2 separate regions of the Homo sapiens genome follow, and region 2 is linked to region 1. The links are contacts of gene promoters, found by promoter capture Hi-C in human tissues and cell types (Jung and others, 2019). All regions are on one chromosome and are shown on one strand. Each heading gives the region's core, a stretch centred on a gene start or on the middle of the fragment in contact. The rest is flanking DNA. Distances are from core to core; before and after follow the strand shown. Region 1 holds the start of PLS1 (plastin 1). Region 2 overlaps SLC9A9 (solute carrier family 9 member A9).

Region 1 (5,020 bases), core at 1,209-3,708:
TAATTTTTTGTATTTTTAGTAGAGATGGGGTTTCACCGTGTTAGCCAGGATGGTCTCAATCTCCTGACCTTGTGATCCACCCACCTCGGCCTCCCAAAGTGCTGGGATTACAGGCGTGAGCCACCACACCCAGCCAATTGGAGGTACTTTTAAGATAAAAAGAACATTATAAACCCATTACTAACACCCCAACCCTGAAATTCATTTTCAACATGTCTTTCCTTCTCTGCATTTAGTCTTTCACCACATGCTTCTTCCTTTACATTTCTTAATTCTGTGCCCTCTTTTCTCCACTTTGAGTCACAGGCTTAATCCAGGGCCTGGACCAACTGACCCGTGTTTTTACGCCTGTCTCCTGTAATCCCCCTAACTAATCTGTGATCTGTTATCAAAATATGAGGAATCAGAAATGGACTTGGCTGCTGTCTTGATACAGCTCTAACATGGCCTTCCCCATATTATAGAACACACATGAAATCTCTTTACAAAACTATACATACTGCACTTCCTTCCCCCACTCCCTCCCACAAACAGGGGCTAAGAATATACTTTGTGCTTAGTGCTGGGTGGGATGTTTAAGTCATAGGCTTTAACCTCCAAGAGCTTACACAACCTGCCAACTTCCTGGTCGGGAAGTTGGGAGGTGCTAAAATACTCAGGATACTATATACAATGGGGATACTAACAGCACAAACAACAGTAGTAAGTGCTATAGGGTTCAGAAGAGGGAGAGCTACTTCATGCTAAGGCAATCAAGGAAGGCTTCCAAAAAGAGGTCACACCTGAGCTACACCTTGCAGCATGAGCAGGACTTCAATACGGAAAGAGGGAGGCAAACAGGCATTTTGGGCAAAGGGCCCAGGTGACTGAGGGAAGGAAGGAGGGCGTTTTCAGGACCAGCAAATTGTTAGGTGGGGCTTCAGTGAAAGGGCACTTTTTGAAAGGAATTTATGAGGTACTAGGAAGCTTAGTAAGAGAAACAACTAATTTTCTGCTTAAGCCAGACTTCATGGTATAAGTAGAAGAGAAAAAGGAAGTTTAATAATGGAGGTAAAGAAGAGTATCTGCAGGGAGTGGTAAAAAGACCCCAGAAAATGAGAAAACCTGGATCCCAGGCCTAGCTTTGCCAATGAGGGGCTTGGGTGGCCACAGCAAGTCATCTAACCTCGCTGGTCTCAGTTTTCTCATTTGTAAACTGAAGCAGCTGAACTGGCTGACCTCAAAGGTCTCTACAGCCAAAACTAGACCAGCTGTATATTATTTCTGCCATTAAAACATTTATCATGGGAGGAATGAAGGGGGGCAGGATACCTGTATTCCCTTTCCATATAGGTTTCTCTTCCTGAACTTAAAATTTCCTCTTCCTAAACTTACTACCTCTCTCTCTATATATATATATGCCTCCACATTACACATTAACACTTTACTATAGAATTTCATTACATAATTCAACTTAAAGGAAAGCTGATTACAAAGGTGGTGGGGGGTGTAAAAGTACTTGCTTCAAGTTCAGTGTGTGCCCCCTGTCCTGAAATTTTGCTTCTGGCTCACAGGTTCTTCAAGAAATTTATGCAGCACAGCTGAAGCCTCATACAAGTGTATCCAACACCGTGGCTGGAGGGAAAGATATCACGGTATAAGCCATAAAATGTGACATAGTAAGTAAGTAAAGGAGGAAAAGTGAGAATTCTGTTACTCATCTAAACGACCGCTTCCTTTTAATAGTACCAAATGAAGACCGAAATACAGTAATAATTGAAAAGTTAGGGAGAAATCTTAAATTTTTTTAAGTCTCCACTTGAAAATGCAGCTGAAACACGGAAAGTTTTTTGGCAGTGAAATTCGCTGAAAACTGACATTTTTATGCCGCATCCAGAGGTCCCTATGCTCCAGGAAAGGTACCAAAAACAGCACGGATGGGATTTCACTACAGCCCTATTGATCCTATGCACCAAAAGGCCAAAGGCAAATAAACCAGTCCCAGAATTAAAACAAAACAGGCTGGTTCAGAAAGCCTCACCGGCAGCCACCCAAAGTTGAAAGAAGAAAACTTAATGAAATACCTTATTTCATTGCATAGAATCACAATTCAGTTAACAGGCTTATTGTTTAAGCAGTGTAAATACGCGATTTAACACCTGCGGGCACTGCCTGCCGGGACTGGGCAGAAGCGTGCCCAGAGGACGGCGGGCGCCACACTGCACAGCCAGGAGACGAGACGCGAGCGAGGGGACCCGGAGATACTGCCCCCGAGCCGCCGCGCGCCCCCAAAGGAGTAACGCTTCGCTTTCCATCTGTCTGTCCAGCCTTCCTTTTGGGCCCTATCCCCACCCCCGCGTACCTGCCGCCACCGCTGTCCTGCCTTCGAGAGGGCAGCTCCCACTGGAGATCCAAGTACCTGCAGGTCCACTCTGCGGCTACCTCTCCGCGCCCGCGTAGCCGCTGCGCTCGCGCCACTGCGCATGCTCGGCCGGCACCCGGGCCCGCAAACTCTGAATCCACTTGCCGCGTTTTGCCTGCGGCTCCCAGGGGAGGGAAAGGGAAGCCCAGAACCTGGGTTTAGGCTAAGGGTGAAAGAGGAGTTGCAGGCGCTGGGAGCGTGGATGGGGAGAGGTGGACGGGCGCTGCGGCAACGTTATCTCTACCGCCCACAGTTACCCAAGTCTAAAGATGACCACCTACACCCTGGGAATGAGTTTAGCACAGCAGTTCTCAAACTTGAGCGTGGATCAGAATCACCTGGAGAGCTTTTTAAATCACAGATCCCAAACCCGGAAACTGAGTTTCCGATTCAGTTAGGTCTGGAGCGTAGCGCGACAGTTCCCATTTCTAACATGTTCTCAGCGAAAACTGGTGCTACTAGTCTGGGTACCACACTTTGGGACCTGCTGGTCAAAAGGAAAGGTATACGTTATTAAAGGAAGACTTGTTTCTCTCCCCTACTCTTTTTTTTTCCGTTTGTTTCACGGATTGCTTCCTTTTCCTTTAACAGCCACACCTGATTAAAATAAATATATAACTAAAGCCCACACTCAAACAAAAGTGGGATATTTTCTCTCGCATGTGAGTCAGGTAAATGGAATGCTGCCTCAAGAGTTCTCACATACTTTGCCTGAAGCATAATCCGTAGTTGTGGTCTGTCCAACTCAGTCCAGAGAACAGAACAAGGTTTTGCTGCCCCTTTAACTCAAAGTCCCACGTGCCCCTTCTGCGCCTAACACAATATCCAATACAGAATAGGCACCCAACCAACCCTGAGATGGTAACAATAGAAAAAATAAAGGGGGGAAGTTGAAATTATTTTAAGAACTCAAACAAATTGGACGAGCAATGAACTATGAAAGTAGGTGGGCCATGGAGAGGGAAGATAAGGAATTTTTCCCACCTGCCACCTAGAGAATCAGGTGAATTTAGTATTCTTATCTGATTTTTCCCACCTGCCACCTAGAGAATCTGGTAAATTTAGTATCCTTATCTGATACTTATTTATCTAGATATGCAAGGGGAGTTAAGTAAGTTCTCACAAAATAAAGCAAAATATTTCCTTAAAAGGTAAACATACATCTAACATATGACCCAGCCATTTCATTCCTAGATGTTATCCAAGAGAAATTAAAACATATGCTTACACAAAAACTTGAACAGGAATGCTCATAGCAGCTGTTTTTCACAAAAGCCCCAAACCAGAAGGAACCCAACTGTCCAACAACATGTAAATGAAAAAACAAATTGTGGTATATTTATACAATGCAATACTACTCAACAATAAAAAAGAAGAAATACTCTCACACAGGACTCAATATGGATAACTCTCAAAATCGGTATGCTGAGTTGAAGAAGCTAGAGACAAAACATATTGTATAATCCCACTTATATGAAGTACAAACTAACCTATAATGACAAAACCCAGATTAGTAATTGCCTGGAGCCAGGAGTGGAGGGAAGGATAAACTGCAAATGAGCAGAAAAAATATTTTTGGAGGGGGACGATGGAAATTTTCTCTGTTTTGATGGTAGTGACAAGTTCACAGGTGTATACAACTGTCATCGCTAAGTTGTACACTTTAAACATGAAAAATGTGTGTAAATTATTCACCAATAAGTTTGATAAGAGAACACTTTTTCATGAAATACTCTTATGATCTGTTTTTTTTTCGTGGTAATATTGACCAGGGCAGGTTCATGAGGAAACGTAGATTCTAAATATGGTATAACCTGATTTGGGAAAGGTAAAATAAAAAGTCATCCTCTGTAAATGAAGCTAAAAATAATGCATATAAAATGTCTGTAACAACCCTCTGTAAAAGCAGCCAACCCTAAGATATGATTTGTAAATATACCATTGATAAAACCGTTTCCCAAAATTGTTTCCAAGTGTAAAATAATAACTAGAGTATATCATTAGAAATGCACAACCAGGGCCCAGTGCAGTAGCTCACGCCTGTAATCCCAGCACGTTGGCAGGCCAAAGTGGGCAGATCACCTAAGGTCAGGAGTTCAAGACCAGCCTGAGCAACATGATGAAACCCCGTCTCTTCTAAAAATACAAAAATTAGCCGGTCGTGGTGGCAAGCGCCTGTAATCCCAGCTACTCAGGTGGTTGAGGCAGGAGAATCTCTTGAACCCAGGAGGCAGAGGTTGCAGTGAGCCAAGATCAAGCCACTACACTCTAACCTGGGCGACAGAGCGAGACTCTGTCTCAGAAAAAAAAAAAAAAGAAATGCACAACCAGCGTGTAATAATTATATAAAGAAAATTGTTACCTGCTTAACTGATTGTATCACTAGCAATGACAAATAAGGTATTCAAACTGTGTTTCCAGGAGCTCTGGGTTTCATGGAGAGAAAAATACGCAGGGCTCTGGATCAAGGACCCTAACCCAGACTGCTTACATATTGTAGTATCTTGTGAAATCTTATTTGATAAAAGGGTTTCACTGATAATTTTGTTTTTTTGAGACTGAGTCTCGCTCTGTTGCCCCGGCTGGAGTTCAGTGGCACGACCTCAGCTCACTGCAACC
Region 2 (5,020 bases), core at 638-3,137, 1.1 Mb before region 1:
CAAGATCAGATGAGCCAGTTTATTGATCTGGGTGGTGCCAGCTGATCCATCAAGTGCAGGGTCTGCAAAATATCTCCAGCACTGATCTTAAGAGCAGTTTAAGGAGGGTCAGAATCTTGTAGCCTCTAGCTGCTTGACTCCTAAACCATAATTTCTAATCTTGTGGCTAATGTTAGTCCTACAAAGGCAATCTAGTCTCCAGGCAAGAAGGAGGTCTGCTTTGAGAAAGGGCTGTTACCATCTTTGTTTAAACTATAAACTATAAGCTAAGTTTCTCCCAAAGTTAACTCAGCCTACGCCCAGGAATGAACAAGGGCAGCTTGGAGGTTAGAAGAAAGATGGAGTCAGTTAAGTTAGATCTCTTTCACTGTCTCAGTCATAATTTTGCAAAGGTGGTTTCAATGGGTTAGGGGGAAGATCACCGACGTAAAGTGCCATTTTCATCACATCATATCAAAGACTACATACTGTCAGCATAATTTATGACTATTGATGTTGACCTTGATCACTTGGCTGAGGTAGTGTTTGTCAGGTTTCTCCACTGTAGAGTTACGATTTTTCCCTCTTTCCATAGTGTACTCTTTGTAAGGAAGTCATTATGCATAACCCACACTTACAAAGTGACAAGTTACATTCCCCTACTTAACCTTCTGGAGTATCTGCATTTAAGAAACATCTTCTGCATAAAGAGATTTGTCTCTTACCATCCATTTATTAATTTATACAATTCTTTATTTATATCAGTGTGGACTTGTGGATGTTTGTTTTATATTTTGATTAATAATCCAATATTATTTATTTTGTTGCTCCAGGTATTTTAGCTATTTTAGCTTTGGCCGTTGGTATTTCCTTCTATTGGTTTCTGTGCCCCTTTGACATAATGGGGTGATTTTTTGGGGGGAGAGTCACTTTCTTACTTTCTGATACTACAAAATACTCCAGGCTTATGCTATATATTTCCTACCCAGTGTTAGGAACAGCTATTTCTCCAAAGAAGCTTAATTCCTTTTACTGGAGAATGAGATTAGAAACCAGGATCTTGGGTGGTTTCTTTTAGACCCTCTCAGATGACATAGGAAAGAAATATATGTGTGTATACTAATGTGCATATATATACATATCTATAAATCATTCTATATGTAAGCAGCTATACCTATATTAAGTTAAACATGAGTTCTTGCTGATGTCTCCAACTCTAATCTAATCTACATTCTAGCCTCCTCCCCTTGCTGATCTGTAAATTTTCACTGCAACCGTGAGAAGCCATTTACTTAATTGTTTAACTCCAATACACATGAATAGTAGTATCAGAATTTTTAACCTGTATCTCTGTGGAAAACTACTTTATCAACTACAGTACAGTACTTAATGTGTAGTTCCCTTTGGCTTTAGTCTTACAGACTGCATTTCCAAAATCTTTTAGGTCAGCTTTTCTCCTATCCCCTTTAATGAGGTGTTTTATACATTTATAATACAGTTAGATTCTCTTGTCAGTCTGCATTCTTTCCTGGAATTTCCCAATGGGGAGGTATGATCATTTATTAAATAAATTAATCTTGTGTTTATCAAAGCATATCACTAATTGTATGGAAGATGTTTTTAATGGACTTATTTTATTAAATATGCATTTATTTTAATTTTACTAGAAGAAACATATAACTAGCCTACTGAACTATGATTTCAAAAACATTATTAATTAGGACAAATATCACTATGCTTAATTTTAAAACTGAGCCATATTAATGAAAATTGACAGTAACAGAGGAATGGCTGTAATTTGGGAAATCCAGAATTAATTTATGCACAGGATCCATTTACATGCTACCTAATGCATTGCTCATTGAAAGTCCTACTTCAGCTTCAGAGCCCTAACCTCCAACATTCTTGGCATTTCAAAACAATAATTTGGCTATATATATATCTCTCTCTCTCATTTTTTTGTCTAAAGTAGCAATGCTTCTCTCCTTCCTTTAGTCTCATACAGTTTTATGCTACATGAAGCAACAGTTAATCCATAACTTTGCTACTTCTCACCAAGTTGGCGGCTTCTTTAAATGGCATAATCTAGAGATATCCAGGATCTCTTAGTAGAAGTTGGACTTTGTCAGCATCTTCAATAACACAGTCCTGATGGCAATGCTCTTGCTCTGACTCACCATATGGAAACCCGACTGAGAAATAGCATCTTGGATAGAACATGGATAGGACCAAAATATCTCAACATGGATGTGGACAGTGATAAAAACAAGCAAACAAACTTGAAGGGTTCATTGAGGCATAAATGGTTGAGGCTTACTTCCAGTAAGTAACTTCAAATTCAGTAAGTCTGGGGTGGGGCCTGAGAGTTTTCATTTCTAACAAATTCCCAGGAGATACTGAAGCTGTGGGTATAGAGAGCACACTGAGAACCACTGGTCTAGTTGTTCAGGCAGTGGCTTAAGGGAAACAAAAGGACAGATTAACCCTGAATATGTTATTATAGAAAATATCATTGCCTGAAGGCAAAAGCTTCAAATAAAATTTTTGGAGAAATGAAATGAAATGAAATTTAGACCTTGGACTTCCTTATTTTTATTGTGGTTATTGATCATAAAATAAAGTAAGACTAGTAAGAATGTATTAACTTTGTAAATAAGTGACAATTATCAACATCATCTTTGTTGTAATTCTTTTCTTTCATAGAAAAGTATCTCAGATTTTTAGCATGTGTAACACAAACCTCAGCGCTAACACTTTCTAGCCAGGTGGTCTTAATTAAGTTTTTTAATCCCTTTGTGTCCTTCACTATGATATGGAAGTTATGGGATAACGGGAAATATATACTTGGTCTTTTCCCTGGTGTCTGGCACAGAACTCTTAAAACCCTTGGCATTTTCTGCGTGATAGAAGTGATGACAAAATCATTTCTGATTGACAGGAGTGATGACAAGCTCATTATTATTCATAACAATCCCCTTTCATCTATACTTGCATTTACAGTAATGAGGTGACTCGCTGGGCCCCACGAGAGCTGCAGGGTGGGGACTGGTCTTCAGAAAGACAAAGGCATGATTAGAGGGTTGGAACTTTCAGCTTCACCACTTACCTTATACCACTCAACCCCAGGAGAGGGGAGAGAGACAGGCTGGAGATTGAGTTCATTCACCAATGGCCAGTGATTTACCCAATCAAGCCTATGACTTGGAGACTCCATAAAAACTCCTAAAAGATGGGGTTCAGAGAGCTTCAGTCTGAAGGACACATCAGTGTACTAGGAAGGTGGTATATCCAGAGGGGATATGAAAGCTGCATACCTGCACATGCCTTCTCCTGTGCATCTCTTTCATTTGGCTGGTCCTGAGCTGCATCTTTTATAATAAACAAGTCATTGTAAGTAACGTACTTTCCTAAATTCTGTGAGCTATTGCAGAAAATGTTTGATCTGAAAAGTGGGTCTTGGGGACTTCCAATTTCTAGACAGTGGGTCAGAACTACAAGTGTCCTGGGTCTTGGAACTGGCATCTATAATGGAGGCAGTCTTATGGGACTGGGTCCTTTACCTTGTGGAATGTGACACTAACTCCAGGTAGATAGTACCAGAATTGAATTTAATTGTTGGATACCTGGTTGGTATTCAGAGAACTGGAGGATTGGTTGCTGGAGTAAAAACAGCCCAGGAATAATATTATTATTTAACTATAACAATAAGGGTTTCACTAGGGAAACATATCCACTCTAGGTATCACAAACAGAAAAGGATGTAATAATATTTAGGAGGTTACAAAACCGTTGTAACGGCTAGAGGGGGAAGTCAAGGTGTGGCCACTAGATTTTATATCAGTGTCCCAGAGAGTGAGGGAATTAATGACCCCATCCAGAGGCAAAGGACTGTAGGAAATCTTGTGACTATCCGGTACTGCCCTAAGCCCTGTGGCATGTGGCTGGAAGGGAATTCAGAGGCCATTGTAAGAGTAATTTCTGTTAAGGCCCACATATCTGCTACTGCAGAAGGAAGAATGGCTTCTGACTTCTTCCTGTCTCCCAAGTCTAGCAATAGAGCATCTCACTAGATGGCAAAATATAAATTGCATGCAGCATATCAGTGGTAACAGAGTCTAGGAAATGTAGTTTTTGGTCTTCCAACCCCTGTAATAAAGGGAAATGCACCAAAAAGCATGGAATAAAATGTTACTATGTAAAAAATTAAAAATCCATCATACATTCTCATAGGGTTTTTATAGGGATTAAATGAGAGAATGCATGTAAAATATTAACAGAGCATGTGAACACGTCTTACATATTTAGTAAGAGTATACGTTCTTGCTGCTGCTGCTGCTGTTGCTGATGGTAAAATCTCGGGCCGGGGTGACTGAGACTGGGTATTCTGTCTTACTTCATAGTTTTCTCATACTTTTGAATTTTCTACCATAACACAATTCTTATTTAAAAGAAAATTAAGTAAACCACCAACAGAAATGCTAGAAGGTCATGTTTTCTGTAGCTGCATATAAAACATTAGTATAGGATAGCACATTAGAAGAAACTGTAATATTAACTAATAAGCTAATAAGGAAAATATGTTTTCTATACAAACCAAGTACATAGAGCTTTATTCTGGACATATTTGAGACTCAAGATGAACACGTATTATCAGGACAGTCTTCTCCAGCTCTGCCATTCGTGAGAGTTTTGTGGGTTTTTTTTTTGGTTTTTTTTTTAACTCTCATTACATGGGTTCTTATTTTAGGTATTGAGTGAATTCTGAATCAAGCCTTTATTTCTATGATTCAATCTTAATTATTCTACCTGCTGTCTTCCAAAAATAAAAATGCTTCCAATTCCTGTGAGAACATCATAGTAAAAAATGGAAAAGGCAAATGACTAACAGGAAGCACACTAAATGTACCTGGAACATAATGAGTAATAGAACAATTAAAGGAGCTAATTTTTCAGTGAGCCAAAAGAGAAAATTCCAGTTAAAGGACTAATTAAAATACTGGAGCAGAAAATGTTGTTTTCGTGACGAAAGAGATCTAGAAAG

What was found. Contacts are between HindIII fragments. The study calls those that stand out against the background at their distance.
Region 2: a contact is called between a fragment that was not itself captured here and the fragment with the promoter of PLS1 in region 1, in 1 of the 25 tissues and cell types used here (IMR-90 fibroblasts).

What each region holds. Positions count from the first base shown.
Region 1 is chr3:142,593,831-142,598,850 of GRCh38, reverse strand. It overlaps PLS1 (plastin 1), which reads right to left and starts at 2,458. Exons shown (of 16, transcript NM_001145319.2): 1 at 2,342-2,458. PLS1-AS1 (PLS1 antisense RNA 1) reads left to right here. Exons shown (of 4, transcript XR_001740938.2): 4 at 1,554-2,942. RefSeq lists an enhancer at 2,163-2,402. The HindIII fragment of the contact is 14,749 bases long and covers 1-5,020 here.
Region 2 is chr3:143,737,153-143,742,172 of GRCh38, reverse strand. All of the region lies in intron 4 of SLC9A9 (solute carrier family 9 member A9), which reads left to right. Among named protein-coding and RNA genes, the nearest start is that of SLC9A9, 110 kb to the left of the region's middle. The HindIII fragment of the contact is 5,662 bases long and covers 1-4,718 here.